5 separate regions of the Homo sapiens genome follow, and all the other regions are linked to region 2. Evidence: promoter capture Hi-C in human tissues and cell types (Jung and others, 2019). All regions are on one chromosome and are shown on one strand. The core of a region is centred on a gene start or on the middle of the fragment in contact, and the rest is flanking DNA. Distances in the headings are between cores, read along the strand shown. Region 1 overlaps ATRN (attractin). Region 2 holds the start of SIGLEC1 (sialic acid binding Ig like lectin 1). Region 3 overlaps ATRN (attractin). Region 4 holds the start of PANK2 (pantothenate kinase 2). Region 5 overlaps RNF24 (ring finger protein 24).

The links. Contacts are between HindIII fragments. The study calls those that stand out against the background at their distance.
Region 1: a contact is called between a fragment that was not itself captured here and the fragment with the promoter of SIGLEC1 in region 2, in 5 of the 25 tissues and cell types used here (IMR-90 fibroblasts, adrenal gland, dorsolateral prefrontal cortex and 2 more).
Region 3: a fragment that was not itself captured here is called in contact with the fragment with the promoter of SIGLEC1 in region 2 in 4 of the 25 tissues and cell types used here (IMR-90 fibroblasts, aorta, mesenchymal stem cells and 1 more).
Region 4: a contact is called between the fragment with the promoter of PANK2 here and the fragment with the promoter of SIGLEC1 in region 2, in 3 of the 25 tissues and cell types used here (IMR-90 fibroblasts, lymphoblastoid cells and stomach).
Region 5: a contact is called between a fragment that was not itself captured here and the fragment with the promoter of SIGLEC1 in region 2, in 1 of the 25 tissues and cell types used here (spleen).

What each region holds. Positions count from the first base shown.
Region 1 is chr20:3,580,374-3,583,073 of GRCh38, forward strand. ATRN (attractin) reads left to right here. Exons shown (of 29, transcript NM_139321.3): 16 at 1,762-1,981. Among named protein-coding and RNA genes, the nearest start is that of GFRA4, 82 kb to the right of the region's middle. The HindIII fragment of the contact is 8,776 bases long and covers 1-2,700 here.
Region 2 is chr20:3,711,293-3,714,049 of GRCh38, forward strand. It overlaps SIGLEC1 (sialic acid binding Ig like lectin 1), which reads right to left and starts at 1,308. Exons shown (of 22, transcript NM_023068.4): 1 at 1,178-1,308. The HindIII fragment of the contact is 16,568 bases long and covers 1-2,757 here.
Region 3 is chr20:3,507,433-3,510,132 of GRCh38, forward strand. The region is part of intron 1 of ATRN (attractin); the gene reads left to right. Among named protein-coding and RNA genes, the nearest start is that of ATRN, 38 kb to the left of the region's middle. The HindIII fragment of the contact is 5,646 bases long and covers 1-2,700 here.
Region 4 is chr20:3,888,090-3,890,789 of GRCh38, forward strand. It overlaps PANK2 (pantothenate kinase 2), which reads left to right and starts at 1,298. Exons shown (of 7, transcript NM_001386393.1): 1 at 1,298-1,639. The coding sequence starts at 1,342. PANK2-AS1 (PANK2 antisense RNA 1) reads right to left here and starts at 1,084. Exons shown (of 2, transcript XR_001754478.3): 1 at 650-1,084; 2 at 1-460. RefSeq lists an enhancer at 373-924 and silencers at 933-992, 1,183-1,682. The HindIII fragment of the contact is 29,664 bases long and covers 1-2,700 here.
Region 5 is chr20:3,962,788-3,965,544 of GRCh38, forward strand. RNF24 (ring finger protein 24) reads right to left here. Exons shown (of 6, transcript NM_001134337.3): 2 at 1,088-1,237. The coding sequence starts at 1,230. Among named protein-coding and RNA genes, the nearest start is that of MIR103B2, 47 kb to the left of the region's middle. The HindIII fragment of the contact is 5,048 bases long and covers 1-2,757 here.

The sequences.
Region 1 (2,700 bases), core at 200-2,699, 130 kb before region 2:
CTGTGGCCACGTTTATGAAACAGAAATTCACAGTCTTAATGATAAGACTGACAGATGAGAGACAACTGAAGTGTAATGTCCTTCCACAGCTATACCTCTAGATGTAGCCCAGTTAGTAGAGCCCAGATTTTTATGGAAAAACAAGAAAGGACACCTAGCCTAACCCTTAGGACAGAGGCTGGCTGGTAGAAAGCTGGAAGGAGGTGACCCCTGCAGGTGAGAAGGAGTGAATTAGGATGTCGAAGACGGAAGGGCTTTCTGTGATTTAATTAGTGCCCCCATCTGTGAGATGTAGAGGGAGATGATTAAGGGAGTGGCTCTTTGAGTGAGCTGCAGGTAAGTTTGCATGGTTGGCTGCAGGCTGGATGGGAGGGGATTTTTATAGTTGAGCCTCAGGAAGGAACCAAGGCCAGACCCTGCGAGGCCATGGCTACAATAGTAATGGATTTGAATTGTATCGTGAAGGCAAAGAAATTATTGAAGGGCCTTTAAAAAGTATTTTTAATTGTCTTTCTTTCTTTTGGATCTGTTTATTTTTAGGTCTTTTAGTAGGCATGTGTATTTTTTCCTCTCAAAAATGGAAATAGGCTGGGTGTGGTGGCTCCTGCCTGTAATCCCAGCATTTTGGGAGGCCAGTGAGGGAGGATTGCTTGAGCCCAGGAGTTCAAGACTAGCCTGGGCAACACAGGGAGACCTCGTCTCTACAAAGGAAGTTTTTTTAAAGAATTAGCCGGGCATGATGGTGGCACATACTTGTAGTTCCGGCTACTTGGGAGGCTGAGGCAAGAGGGTTGCTTGAGCCCAGGGGTTTGAGGCTGTAGTGAGCCATGATCATGTCCCTGCACTCCAGCATGGGCAACAGAGCGAGACCCTGTCTCAAAAGAAAGCAAAGGGAGGGAAATACAGTATATCTTTTGTTTTATAACTACCAAAATTAGGAATACTTACCATTTCTTGGCTAAACTTTATATTTTGATTTTTAAAACTTGTTAAAAATTGCAATGAGAAGGAAATTTCAGGAGAGCAGAAGACAGACTGTCCCAGGTGTCACTGTCCTATTATTCCCTATAAAATCCAGTGCCAGGATGGATGAATGGATAAAGCAAATGTGGTATAAGTTGAATATCCCTTATCTAAAATGCTTTGGACGAGGAGTGTTTCGAATTTTAGAATATTTGCATTATACTAACCAGTTAAGCATCCCTAATCTGGAAATCCAAAATGCTCTAGTGAACATTTTCCTTCAGCATCCATCATGTTGGCACTCAAAAAGTTTTAGATTTTGGAGTGTTTTGGATTTCAGATTAGGGATACTCAGCCTGTGTTTGGGGGTAGCCATCTCTTCATATAGACATTTCAGAACTTAAATATTGCTTTGCTATAATTTCTGTGAATTTTTGATATATTATCTTCTCTGAGCTACATTTTTATCCTTTATAAAATGGCCATATTGAAGTGATGATCTATCCTAATCTACCATGGCTGAGTCAAGGGATAAAGAGGTTTTCCTATGTCTGTGGGGTATACTTAACTTGGTGGTTTTTATCTAGAAGCTTGTTTTGGTCAAGATGTTGGTTATATTCAGGCCAGGCATGGTGGCTCATGCCTATAATCTCAACATTTTGGGAGGCCAAGGTGGGAGGATCACTTGAGCTCAGGAGTTTGAAACTAGCCAGGGCAACATGGCAAGACTCCATCTCCAAAATTTAAATTAAAAAAAGATACTATCTGTATTCATAGTTGTGTCTCTTTTGCCTTTAGTCCAAGCTCACCTTAACCCCATGGGTCGGCCTTCGGAAGATCAATGTGTCCTACTGGTGCTGGGAAGATATGTCCCCATTTACAAATAGTTTACTACAGTGGATGCCGTCTGAGCCCAGTGATGCTGGATTCTGTGGAATTTTATCAGAACCCAGTACTCGGGGACTGAAGGCTGCAACCTGCATCAACCCACTCAATGGTAGTGTCTGTGAAAGGCCTGGTAAGTTCACAGGTGAATTAGGTGGTATTCAGAGTTTATTGTGAGAGAAACCATAGGAGGCATAGTTCATTGCTGAGATGTGTGAAGTAGTCATGAAAACAGATGAAGTATTGATTTCAAGCATGCAAAGAAGAGTATAACCCAGATTTCAGAAGCAGAAGGAAATATTCTGGGACCCTGAATAGTTTTAATTATAAGCAAAACTAAAAATAACTAACACTACTCGAAGAAACTGATATTCTAATTAACAATGAGATTGATAGGTTTATTGACCAGAAAAAGTATTGAGAATTGCTCTGAAAAGCAAATTTATTGGTGTTGGCAGAGAAATGCTGTGGAAGAAGAAACAAAAAAGGAAAATAAAAACAAAGAAAAGATTAGTAAAGCAAGCAAGTGACTGCAGGGACAGTGTTCAGAAAGGTAGTGTCAACAGGGAGAAAAATGATGAGAGCAGTTCTGTAAGCGAGGACAGAAGCAACCCAGAACTACGCGAGAGCTGCAGGAGAGTACTGAGCAGACAGACACTCGGAGTAGCTTCCCAGCTTTCAGTCTCTCTGGGCTACATTTTGGCTAACTAAAGGCAGGCCCAGGGGTAGCTGCTGCAGCATGAAGACAACTCAAAATAAGCCTCCTCCTCCTGCAGAGGGACTCACAAGCAGTCGGTGGAATTGTGGATTATTTTGGGAGGCTGGACTCCATTTGCATTGTGTCCAATTTTG
Region 2 (2,757 bases), core at 58-2,557:
TTGCATCAGGGTGGCTTGAGCTGGCCTGGTACACAGTGGGCACTCACGTTTGCTGCCTGTTTGAGACCAAGTGCCTCAGGAGGTCTTGGAGGGTTGGCTGGGGCCCCAAGTCCCTGACCTCTGATTCCAGAGGCCAAGTTTAGCTGGGGAAGAAAGGGCAGAGGCAGTTTCCCTATGGACAGCTAGGCCCGGGTGTAGGATTCAGTTTCTGTTTCCTGACACCAAGGCTTCTCCCCAACTTCCCCATTGGGCTAGAGAAGGAAGAACACAGGGTGACATGGCCAGCTGGAGGTTACTGGCCCACAGATAGGGAGTCAGGGTACGGATGGGCAATTCCTGGAGCAGATTATGGTCAAAATAGTGGAAATCCCCAATCACAGGCCAAATGTTTAATTCTCAGAGCCATAGAATCCATAACTAATGCTTATTGGCTTTGACATGGGCAGTAGAAATTTCACACTTCATTCCTTAATCTGGCTCTAAATGCTTCTGGCTGGAGTGCTCACTCTCCAAACTGTGCTGGACAGCACCAGAAGCCCTCCTGTGGACGGACGAAGTGGTGATGGATGAAGTGGAATTGTGCTGGGGTTAGAGTAAGGAGAGATTATCGTTGGGCTGGGCTGGGGCTGAGGTCAGGGTGATGATCAGGTTGGAATTCTGGAAGCAAATTAAGGCTGGGATTGGGGTGGACATTGAGGTTGAGTGATGGGTGGGGGTAAGGGTGAAGGTTGGAGTTGGGTGCAGGTGATGGTTAAGATACGGTGGAGGCTGGGTTGAGATGAGGATGATAGAGTCGGAGTTGTGGTTAGGGTTGGGATGATGGATGGTTGGGATTAGATGAGATGAGTAAATGGTTAGGGTTGGGGTGCAAGTGAGGTGAGGGTGAGATAAGGTTGGAATAGGGGCTGGGGCTGGGGCTGAGGTAGGGTCAGAGCAGGGTGATGGTCGGGACTGGGATTGGGATGCAGGTTGGAAGGATTTGGGGGTGGTGGAAGGGTTTCAGTTGAGTCCATCTTTGATTAGTGTCTTGGACTTGGGTTGGTTTGGGGTCCACCACTCGCACCCAGATGGAGCCCCCCCCCGACCCCTGCCCCTATCCCGCTCAGCCAGTTTCAGCCCAGCCCCGCTCCTAATGCTCCACTCACCCTCTGGGCCCAGGGACCAGGGACAGGGGTACCTGCTCCACAGAAGGAAGTGGCTGCGGCGGTGCTGGACCTGCGGAGAGGAGAACAGGAAGGACGGCCAAGAGCTCCTGGTGCAGCTGGCTCCCCAGGGCTCTGCCGGCTCAAGAGAGAAGGATCCCGTATCAGGGGCTGCTTCCTCTTTCCCAAAGCCTCAGCTCTACTGTCCAACCCAGAGGCTGGTCAGGGAGGCAGCTGCAGGCCTTGCGCAATGCCAAAACGGGAAAGACCTCCATAGGGGAAGGCCCTCGGCAAGGCCAGGGACTTAGGGACTCCAGCAAGCAGAAGTGGGACCGCTGCAACGCTGGAGCCTCCCCAGGCAAAGTGAGAAATGGAGTGGGGGACTCCCATTCACCAGCCAAATCCACACCCCACTCTCTCTGAGCCCCTTAGGGAGGCTGGGGGAGGTGGAAGGGGGCTTCCTGCACACAGCTCTCCTCCCTGACACCTGAGAGGGAGGCGCGCCCAGCCTGGGGTGGGGATGCACTACACGATGCCCAGACCAAGGCAGTTATTCTCCAAGCCATTCAGGAGCCTCCCTGTACCACTGAGTACTCTTAAGAACCCCCAAGAGGCAGTCCCGTGTTGTGGGGGACATAAGGCCCCAATGTCCAGGACACTCCTCAGGTTTTCTCTTTCCCCTCTCACTGTCCTGTACGTTTTTTGGTTTTTGGCTTCTTGTTGTTGGTTTTTTTCTTTTTGTTTTGTTTTTGCTTTTGAGATGGAGTCTCACTCTGTCGTCCAGGCTGGAGTGCGGTGGCACAATCTCAGCTCACGGCAACCTCCACCTCCCGAGTTCAAGTGATCATCTTGCCTCAGCCTCTCGAGTAGCTGGGATTACAGGCATGCACCACCACATCCGGCTAATTTTTGTATTTTTGGTAGAGACGGGGTTTCACCATGTTGTCCAGGTTGGTCTTGAACTCCTGACCCCAAGTAATCTGCCTGCCTCGGCCTCCCAAAGTTCTGGGATTACAGAGGTGAGCCGCTGCACCCGGCCACTATCCTATACCTTCACCCCCACCTTGGGACAGGAAAGGAAAGCCCCCACCACAGCTAGTTACTGTTACATTACTGCAGCCCATCTTATTGAGGGCCTAGTTTGTGCAGGCACTTGACATGTGAAGCAGATGTTAATTGCTCCAAGCAATCCCAGATACAAGCAACAAGACTTTTTTTGGTTTTTGTTTGTTTGTTTGTTTTTGTTTTTTGAGACAGTGTCTTGCTCTGTCGCCCAGGCTGGGGTGTCCTGGTGCAATCTTGGCTCACTTTGGCTCACTGCAGCTTCGAAATTCTAGGCTTAAGCAATCCTCCTGCTTCAGCCTCCTAAGAAGCCGGGATTACAGGCGCTTGCCACTATGCACGGCTAATTTTTTAAGTTATTTTGTAGAGACGGAGTCTCCCTATGTTCCCAGGCTGGTCTCAAACACCTGGGCTCAAGTGACTCTCCCACCTCGACCTCCCAAAGTGCTGGAACTACAGGCGTAAGCCACCACTCCTGGCCATTTTTTTTTTTAATTTCACAACTCAAACTTAATTCAACTCAGTCCCTGCCTACCTGTACTGGTGGGGAGCT
Region 3 (2,700 bases), core at 52-2,551, 200 kb before region 2:
AAAATGGCAAAAACTGCAATTACTTTTGCACATACCGAAAAGAGTTTGAATGATGTGGGACACAGTTGTAATTAGAACTCCAAAAGGAGAAAAAAAGAGTGGAGCAGAAGCAATACTTAATGAGATAATGTCCTAGAATGTTCACAAAGTGATAAGATGCTTAAAGCTGCCAATTCAGGAAATGCAACAAACACCAAACAGGATGAGGAAGGAAAAGCATACTCAGCATTTTTGCTAACAACCAAAGACAAAGTTAAAAATATTTTTTTTTTTTTTTTTTTTTTTGAGACAGAGTCTTGCTCTGTTGCCAGGCTGGATCTCGGCTCACTGCAACCTCCACCTCCCAGGTTCAAGCAATTCTCCTGCCTCAGCTTCCTGAATAGCTGGGACTACAGGCGCGCCACCACGCTCAGCTAATTTTTGTATTTTTAGTGAAATACGAAAATTAGTTTTAGCGAAACGGGGTTTCACCATGTTGGCCAGGATGGTCTCGATCTCTTGACCTCGTGATCCACCCGTCTCGGCCTCCCAAAGTGCTAGGATTACAGACATGAGCCACCGCGCCTGGTGAAAGTTAAAAATCTTAAAGCAACCAGTGGATTGAGACACATTATCTTTACACAAGCAAGAAAAAGGCTGGGCGTGATGGCTCATACCTGTAATCCCAGTACTTTGGGAGGCTGAGGCGGGATGATTCCTTGAGCCCAGGAGTTTTGAGACCAGCCTGGTAACATAGTGAGACCTTGTCTCAGTTTTAAAAATTTATTTTCTTATTAAAAAAAAAAAAGCAAGGACAAGACTGAAAACTACCTTCTTATTATAAACAATGGAAACCCAAACAATGGAATGACAGTTTTAAAGTGCAGAAAAGAAAATAAATGCCAGCATAGAATTGTATACCAAGAGTTGACAAACTTTCTTTTTAAAGGGCCAGGTAGTATATATCTTAGACTCCTGGGCCATGTAAGATCTCTGCCACAGCTATTCTGCATTGTTGCATGAAAGCAGTCATAAACAATCATAAGCGAATGGGCATGGCTGTGTTCCAATAAAACCTTACTTACAGAAACAGGCTACTAGTCCACGGGCTGTAGTTCCCTACCCTTCTATATCCAGTAGAAAATATACTTCAAAAATGAAGAACTAAAGATATTTTCAGATGAACAAATACAGAGGGGATTAATCACCGGCAGCCTTACAGTAAAGGGAGTTCCGTAAGCAGAGGAGAATGACTGCAGAAGGAAATACAGAGATTCTAAGAGGAATGAGGAGCAGTGGAAAGAATAAAGTGTGGGTAAACTTAACTGAATGTTAATTGTATGCAATAATAATGTCCTCTGGGATTTAGAATATAGAATTGAAATATACACCAACAAAGCACAAGCAGCTGGTATAGGTGGATGGAAGAAGTGAAGCTTAAGGTCCTTGAATTGCCCAGGAAATGGTATAAGTACTAATTTATATTAGGCCTTGATAAATCAGGGATGCAAGTTATAATTTCTAGGGTAATCACTAATAGTAGTAAAAGTAAAGGTAATAGCAAAATAAAAGTAAATAGTAAAAGGATGCATAACATAATAGTTTATAAAGAAAAAAATGGAATAATAAGAATATTTAATCCAAAAAAAGGTAAAACAAGATAGGAAAAGGAACATAGAGTAAGTAGGCAGATAGAAAACAAATAGCGAGACAGTAGATTTAATGCCAGTTATGTCAGCACTGGAATGAAAACTGACTCAAGATACCAGTTCAATGACAGATTTGTCTAAGTGGGTTTAGGAAAACCAATGAACTATGATACAAAACTGTACTTAACTGTAATGAGTCAAATATTGAAAGCAAAAGGATAGAGAAAAAGGTATATCACACTCTTAACCCACAGACAGCTGGTTTATGTCTATATCTGACAAAATAGACTTAAGAAGGATTGCTAGAGGCAAAATAGTAACGTTTCATAATGATGAAAGCACAGTCTACCAGAAAAAATGATTCTAAATGTGTGTGTACCTAATAATGTAACCTTATGTTATATAAAGTGAAAGATGTCAGAGGTACATGTTAACAATTTTTTTTTTTTTTTTGGAGACAGGAGTCTTGCTCTGTCGCCCAGGCTGGAGTGCAGTGGTGTGATCTCGGCTCACTGCAACCTCCAGCCCCTAGGTTCAAGTGATTCGTCTGCCTCAGCCTCAGCCTCCCGAGTAGCTGGGACCACAGGTGTGCACCACCATGCCCGGCTAATTTTTGTATTTTTAGTAGAGGTGGGGTTTTGCCACGTTGGCCAGGCTGGTCTTGACCTCCTGACCTCAAGCTATCCACCTGCCTTGGCCTCCCAAAGTGCTGAGATTACAGGTGTGAGCCACCACGCCCAGCCACAAATTTTTTATTTGTAAATAATTTTAAGCTCACAGAAAAGTGCAAGAATAAAAACAGTGCAAAGCACAACTTTGTATTCTACCCAAATTCATTGTTAACATCTCACTACATTTGCTTTATCATTCCTCACCCCTCCCTCCACATAAGCACACATACACAGATATGTGTGTGTATACATAATTTTTCCCTCTGAACCTTTCAAGGGTAAACTATATATATCGTGGCTCTTGACCCAAAATACTTTAGTATGTATTTTCTGAGAATAGTGATAGTCTTAAGAGTCTTAAGGTACAGTTTTTACCTTCAATATATTTGACATTGTACAAT
Region 4 (2,700 bases), core at 48-2,547, 180 kb after region 2:
TTCAGCAAGCACAAGCGAAGCTCAACCTTTTTGTTCAGCCTGCTACAACCAATCATTATGGGAGAGGGGAATAAGGATCACTGCCCAAGGGGCATTAGGATCACTGCCCAGTGGGCATTACAGTCTCCCCAGGGAGGCACTCTTTTTTATTTTTTATTTTTTTTGAGACGGAGTTTCGCTCTTGTTGCACAATGTTGGGTCACTGCAGCCTCCGCCACCCGGGTTCAAGCAATTTTCCTGCCTCAGCTTCCCAAGTAGCTGGGATTATAGGCATGGGCCACCACGCCCCGCTAATACGGAGGCACTTTTAATTAGCCCACAGTCCAGTGAAATTTGACGGAGTGAGGAAGTGACCTCAGAGTACAGAACGGGATGGGATCCTTCCGGGCTTGGGCAGCCTTTGGTAGTGGGGATGCTTGGAAGGGTCAGGGTCTCAGTCCTGGAGGTGACCAATTTTTCTCTCCAAAAGAGAAAGGAAGATGATTAAAAAAAAAATCCATGCTCCAAAGCGGCAGCCAAATCCTTCTATGGCCCCCAATGCATCACCCAGAAAGGGGCTCCAGACTCTCCTGCAAAAGGCCAACTCTACTTCCCGGCTCCCACTTCCCCTCCTTCGCCACAGGAGGGTGGCGAAGGATTTATAACCCACCTCTTTCTTTCAGTTGCCATGGAGACAAGCCCCAGTCCTTTCATTCCTTCTGGTACCTCTCTCTCCAACGCAGGCGGAAAGGAGGCGGCTTAGCCCAAACATGCTGGGGGAGGGGCTGGCGGCCTCGACGGCAGCTGCGGAACTAGGCCGAGGGACAAAGGCTAAGGTCAGCCGCGGTTCAAGCCCTTTCGTCTGCCGACGACCAGCGGCCAGACGCTGCGGGAGCACTGCTGGGCTGGAGGAGGGCTCGAGCTGCGAGGACGGCACGGAGCAGCGGGGTGGGACTCGGGGTCGCCCCAGGAGAGTTCCGCGGCCCGGGGGGGCAGAGGCATGCACAAGTGGGGGGCGGAAGGAGGGGGTGGATGAGGAGGCTCGGGCCCTTCCACCCACGCGTCCATTGGGCGGCGCCGCCATCACTCTCTTCTGGGCTACACCGCCTTCTCTTCCTCCGCGGAACCCGGATCCCCTCCTCCACCACCCTCTCCCCGCCCCGTCACGATAGCCTCTCATTGGACGGAGGCACGGTCAATCCTCCTCGAGTTAGGGAGCCGACTGGACGCGAGGCCTTTGGGCCGTCCCCAGCCTCGTCGGATTGGCTTCCTGCGCGTTGGCGCAACGGAAGAGGCGGCCGGCCGAGGGCGCGCCTCTGCTCTGGCTGGACTGCCGCGGAGGAGGCGAGAAGGAATCCGACGCTGGGGGGCTTGCTCGGGCGGCAGCGACTGCTGCTGCGGATGGGAGGGGGCCGGCTCGGCGCGCCCATGGAGCGCCACGGCAGGGCTTCCGCCACCTCCGTCTCGTCGGCTGGGGAGCAGGCGGCCGGGGACCCCGAAGGGCGGCGGCAGGAGCCACTGCGGCGCCGGGCGAGCAGCGCGTCGGTGCCCGCGGTCGGGGCCTCGGCTGAGGGCACGAGGCGGGATCGACTGGGCTCTTACAGCGGCCCCACCTCGGTCTCCCGCCAGCGCGTCGAAAGCCTGAGGAAAAAGCGGCCGCGTAAGTGTTCCGTGGGGCGCCCTCCCGGCCCGCCCTGCCCCCCCTTCCGGCCCACCCTGTCCCCTTCCGGCCCCGCCGCCGTTTTTCCCGCGCGCGGACACTGTCCCCGCACGGTGGTCCCTCGTTGGTGCGTGGCCTGACATCCGGCTGGAGGCCTCGGGTGCTCCGAAAGCGGTACCTTCGGGGGCCCCCCCGCACCCATTGGTATGCACTTCCCGCTTGTTGGAGTGGAGGGCTTTTCCCCAGGACCTGTCCTCCCTTTTCTTAGCTCCTTGGGCATTCTCTTCCTGAGGGTCACATGATTTTATCCTCGAGAAGGCTTCTTTTGACTCATTTCCACCTCCTTTCCTCCCAAATCCTTTGAATCCCCAATGTTTGTTTTCCGTGGGTTTCCAAAGAGCTGCTCTCTAATACTTTAAGTCCCTTTTATTCGTCAATTTCGGGCTTACTGGAAAATGGTGAACTGCCCCTTGAGTTGCACCAGGCCTGAAACTGTATTCCGTGCACCTCTAAGGTGGCTGCCCTTCTTCTCGTGAGAATCCAGGTCATCTCTCACCCACATATCCCCTCCGTTTTCCTTCTGTCTATTTGCAGGTACTCACGATTCAGAACTGTGGCATTCTGGGCATTAAGGCTCTTTGTTTTGAGGGGAAACAACATCTTTCTGAATTTTGCCTTGGGAGTTGCATACGCTCCTCCCAGAGAATCCGTTTCCCCATTTTATTAGGTTTCTTTTTCTGTGTTGTGTATTTTCTCCCCTTTACAAGTCTTCAATTCAGGACCGCTGCCTGGCAGCCATTGCTGCTGTTGAAAGTATCAATTGTCCTGATACTGTAATATGAGCTTTACAGTGTGATGCCATTTTACATATGGTTGGACTTTTTGGTGGGTGTTGCCAGATTCCTATTTCAGGAAATTGACTTGTTTAAATGCAGATTGTGAGAGGGAGGGAAAATGGCAAGATGTGAGATTTTTATTGAATAGTCTTCTACCTTAGCCCAGTCACCCAACTGCTTTTTTGAATCTTCTCTGATATGGATGATTAAATGTAGTTCTATTTT
Region 5 (2,757 bases), core at 179-2,678, 250 kb after region 2:
GCAATCTCTCCCTCCCGGGTTCAAGGGATTCTCCTGCCAAGTAGCTGGGATTACAGGTGCCCACCACCACACCTCGCTAATTTTTGTATTTTTAGTAGAGACTGGGTTTCACCATGTTGGCCAGGCTGGTCTCGAACTCCCGACCTCAGGTAATCCGCCCACCTCAGCCTCCCAGTGTTGGGATTTTGGACGTCAGCCACTGCACCTGGCTGATCTAATTATTTTAATAATAGTTTAATAGAAATGTCAGAAAAAGGAATTTCTGGAAATAAACAGGTTTTATAAAGGTTTTTTCTGTAGATTACAATTATATTTGTCTCAAGTATTTAATTAATTTGGAGGAAGAAATAAAAGTCATAAGCAGTCAACATATCTATGAGATATAAGGAGCATCCCCTATGTTTCTTTATTATTTTATTTTTTGAGACAGAGTCTCGCTCTGTTGCCTAGGCTGGAGTGCAATGGCACGATCTTGGCTCACTGCAACCTCCACCTCCTGGGTTCCAGTGATTTTCCTGCTTCAGCCTCCCAGGTAGCTGGGATTACAGGCATGAGCCACCACGCCCAGCTAATTTTTGTATTTTTGGTAGAGACGGAGTTCCACCATGTTGGCCAGGCTGGTCGAGAACTCCCGACCTTAGGTGATCCACTCGCCTGGGCCTCCCAAAGTGCTGGGATTACAGGCATGAGCCACTGCGCCCAGCCTTCCCTACTTTTCTGATACCTAATGACCTTAGCTAACAAGGAAGCCACACCTTGAAAAGCAATTTTGAAATCTCTGTGAGAGTAGATTAAATCTTGGAGATAGACAATGACATACGTGTATCTGTTTACCAGGTAGAAGGGCAGAAAAATAAATAAGGACAATTTTCTCCTACAGAGTAAAACACTTCATCAGTAGATAAGATTGAAGATCATATAAAGGTGTTTTACTGATTACTAATGCACAGATTAAAACGGTAAGCCATCTTAATTTTTTAAAAATTTGCCAATTATCATACTTCATTTTAAAAAAAATCTGAGGACAGAAACTTGATTATTGATTATTTAACATATTTTGAAGTAACATAGAATGAAAATTGGTTACCTAATCAAGTAGCAACAGAAGAGTAAACTAAGGATGAAGACAAATATAGCAGTACCAAAAACCACAATATATATGTTGAGAGGCAGATTCTGGAATCCAATATTAGGCATCCTGAAGTTGTAATGTGGGAAATCCGAGCTCATGGATGAACTGTGGGGGAAGAAAAGAATGGAAAAAAAATAGGTAAAGACTAAGAACCAAGACAGCATTATCATTGTGCACGTATAGAGGCACAATGACCTCATCTGAAACAAATATGGTAGACAAAGTGTTAATATTCTTGCCATTCATTCATTCATTCACCATGCCAAATATTTACTGAGTATTATGTACCTGGCACTATTTCAGAGACTGGAGATCCAATATAAAAAGCTTTGCAAGTTGCATTTATTCACTAAAAGGCATTTCACTAAAATAATGCCAGTAATTAATAAACATGAAAATGTTCAACCTCAGAGAAGTGCAAAAAGAAAAAAAGTTTTAAGATTCTTCAAACTCTTTAGCCTTTAACCTAATAACTCAACCCTTGAAGTAACAATATTTATAATGGTAAAATATTAGAAATAACTGAGATATCTCACAAGGAAATATGATTAATTATATAGTCATATGTTATAGTATTAAAGGGTCATGAAAACATTTTCAAGTAATTTTTTTTTTCTTTTGAGACAGGGTCTCATTCTGTCACCCCAGGCTGGAGTGCAATGGTGTGATCTCAGCTCTCTGCAGTCTTAATCTCCCGGGCTCAAGCAATTCTTCCACTTCAGCCTCCCAAATAGCTAGGACTACAGGCGCGTGCCACCACACCTAGCTAATTTTTAAAAATTTTTTTGTAGAGATAGCATGTTGCCTAGGCTGGTCTTGAACTCGTGGGCTCAAGCAATCATCCCTACTTGGCCTCCCAAAGTGCTGGTATTATAGGCATGAGCCACTGTGCCCGGCCAATTTCTCCCCATTCTATACACAAGGAAACTGAAGCTTAGACAGTTCTGGTCCCATGGCCATGACTGACCCGGTATGTACACAGCCAGAGCCTCTCCAACTCCAAACTCAGCAGTCTCAGTCCATATGCTCCACTGCCTTGCTCATGTGTTACTTTTATAATCAGAAACAGTAAGTGTTGTTTAAACATTAAAAAAAAGGACTATTTCTGTCAGTTTGTTTGAGAATACTTACTGATTACTACAGTTAAAATTCCACAGATAAAGGATGCCTCTCCTGTAAGTGATAAGCTGTAGTTTGTCATTTTGATTCCTTACAAAATAAAGAGTTCCTGCCAGGCCTGCTTATTAAGACCAAAGATTGACAATGGAATTATAACTATGAATACTACAAATCCAAACCCAAACAAAACTCTACCAAGCAAAGAAAACTTCTACTTTTATTTATGCATGGTAAATTAAAAATGTGTTCACAGATTTTTAGTTTTCTTGTAGGTTCCCAGAAGAGTATATTTATACTGTTGACACCACTGAGATGCTAACTGGCTGTATCTGAAATCTAAATCTTATGATTAGTTTCCAGTCTCTAGTAACATATATCAGGAAGTCAGTACCTGCAAAGAACAACTTCATCCCATGTAAATTCTTCTCTGACAGCTTCCAAACATAAATAATGGGTAATATTTAATTTTGAACCTTTGGCCATTTTCTGGGTTGGCTCAGTTAGAG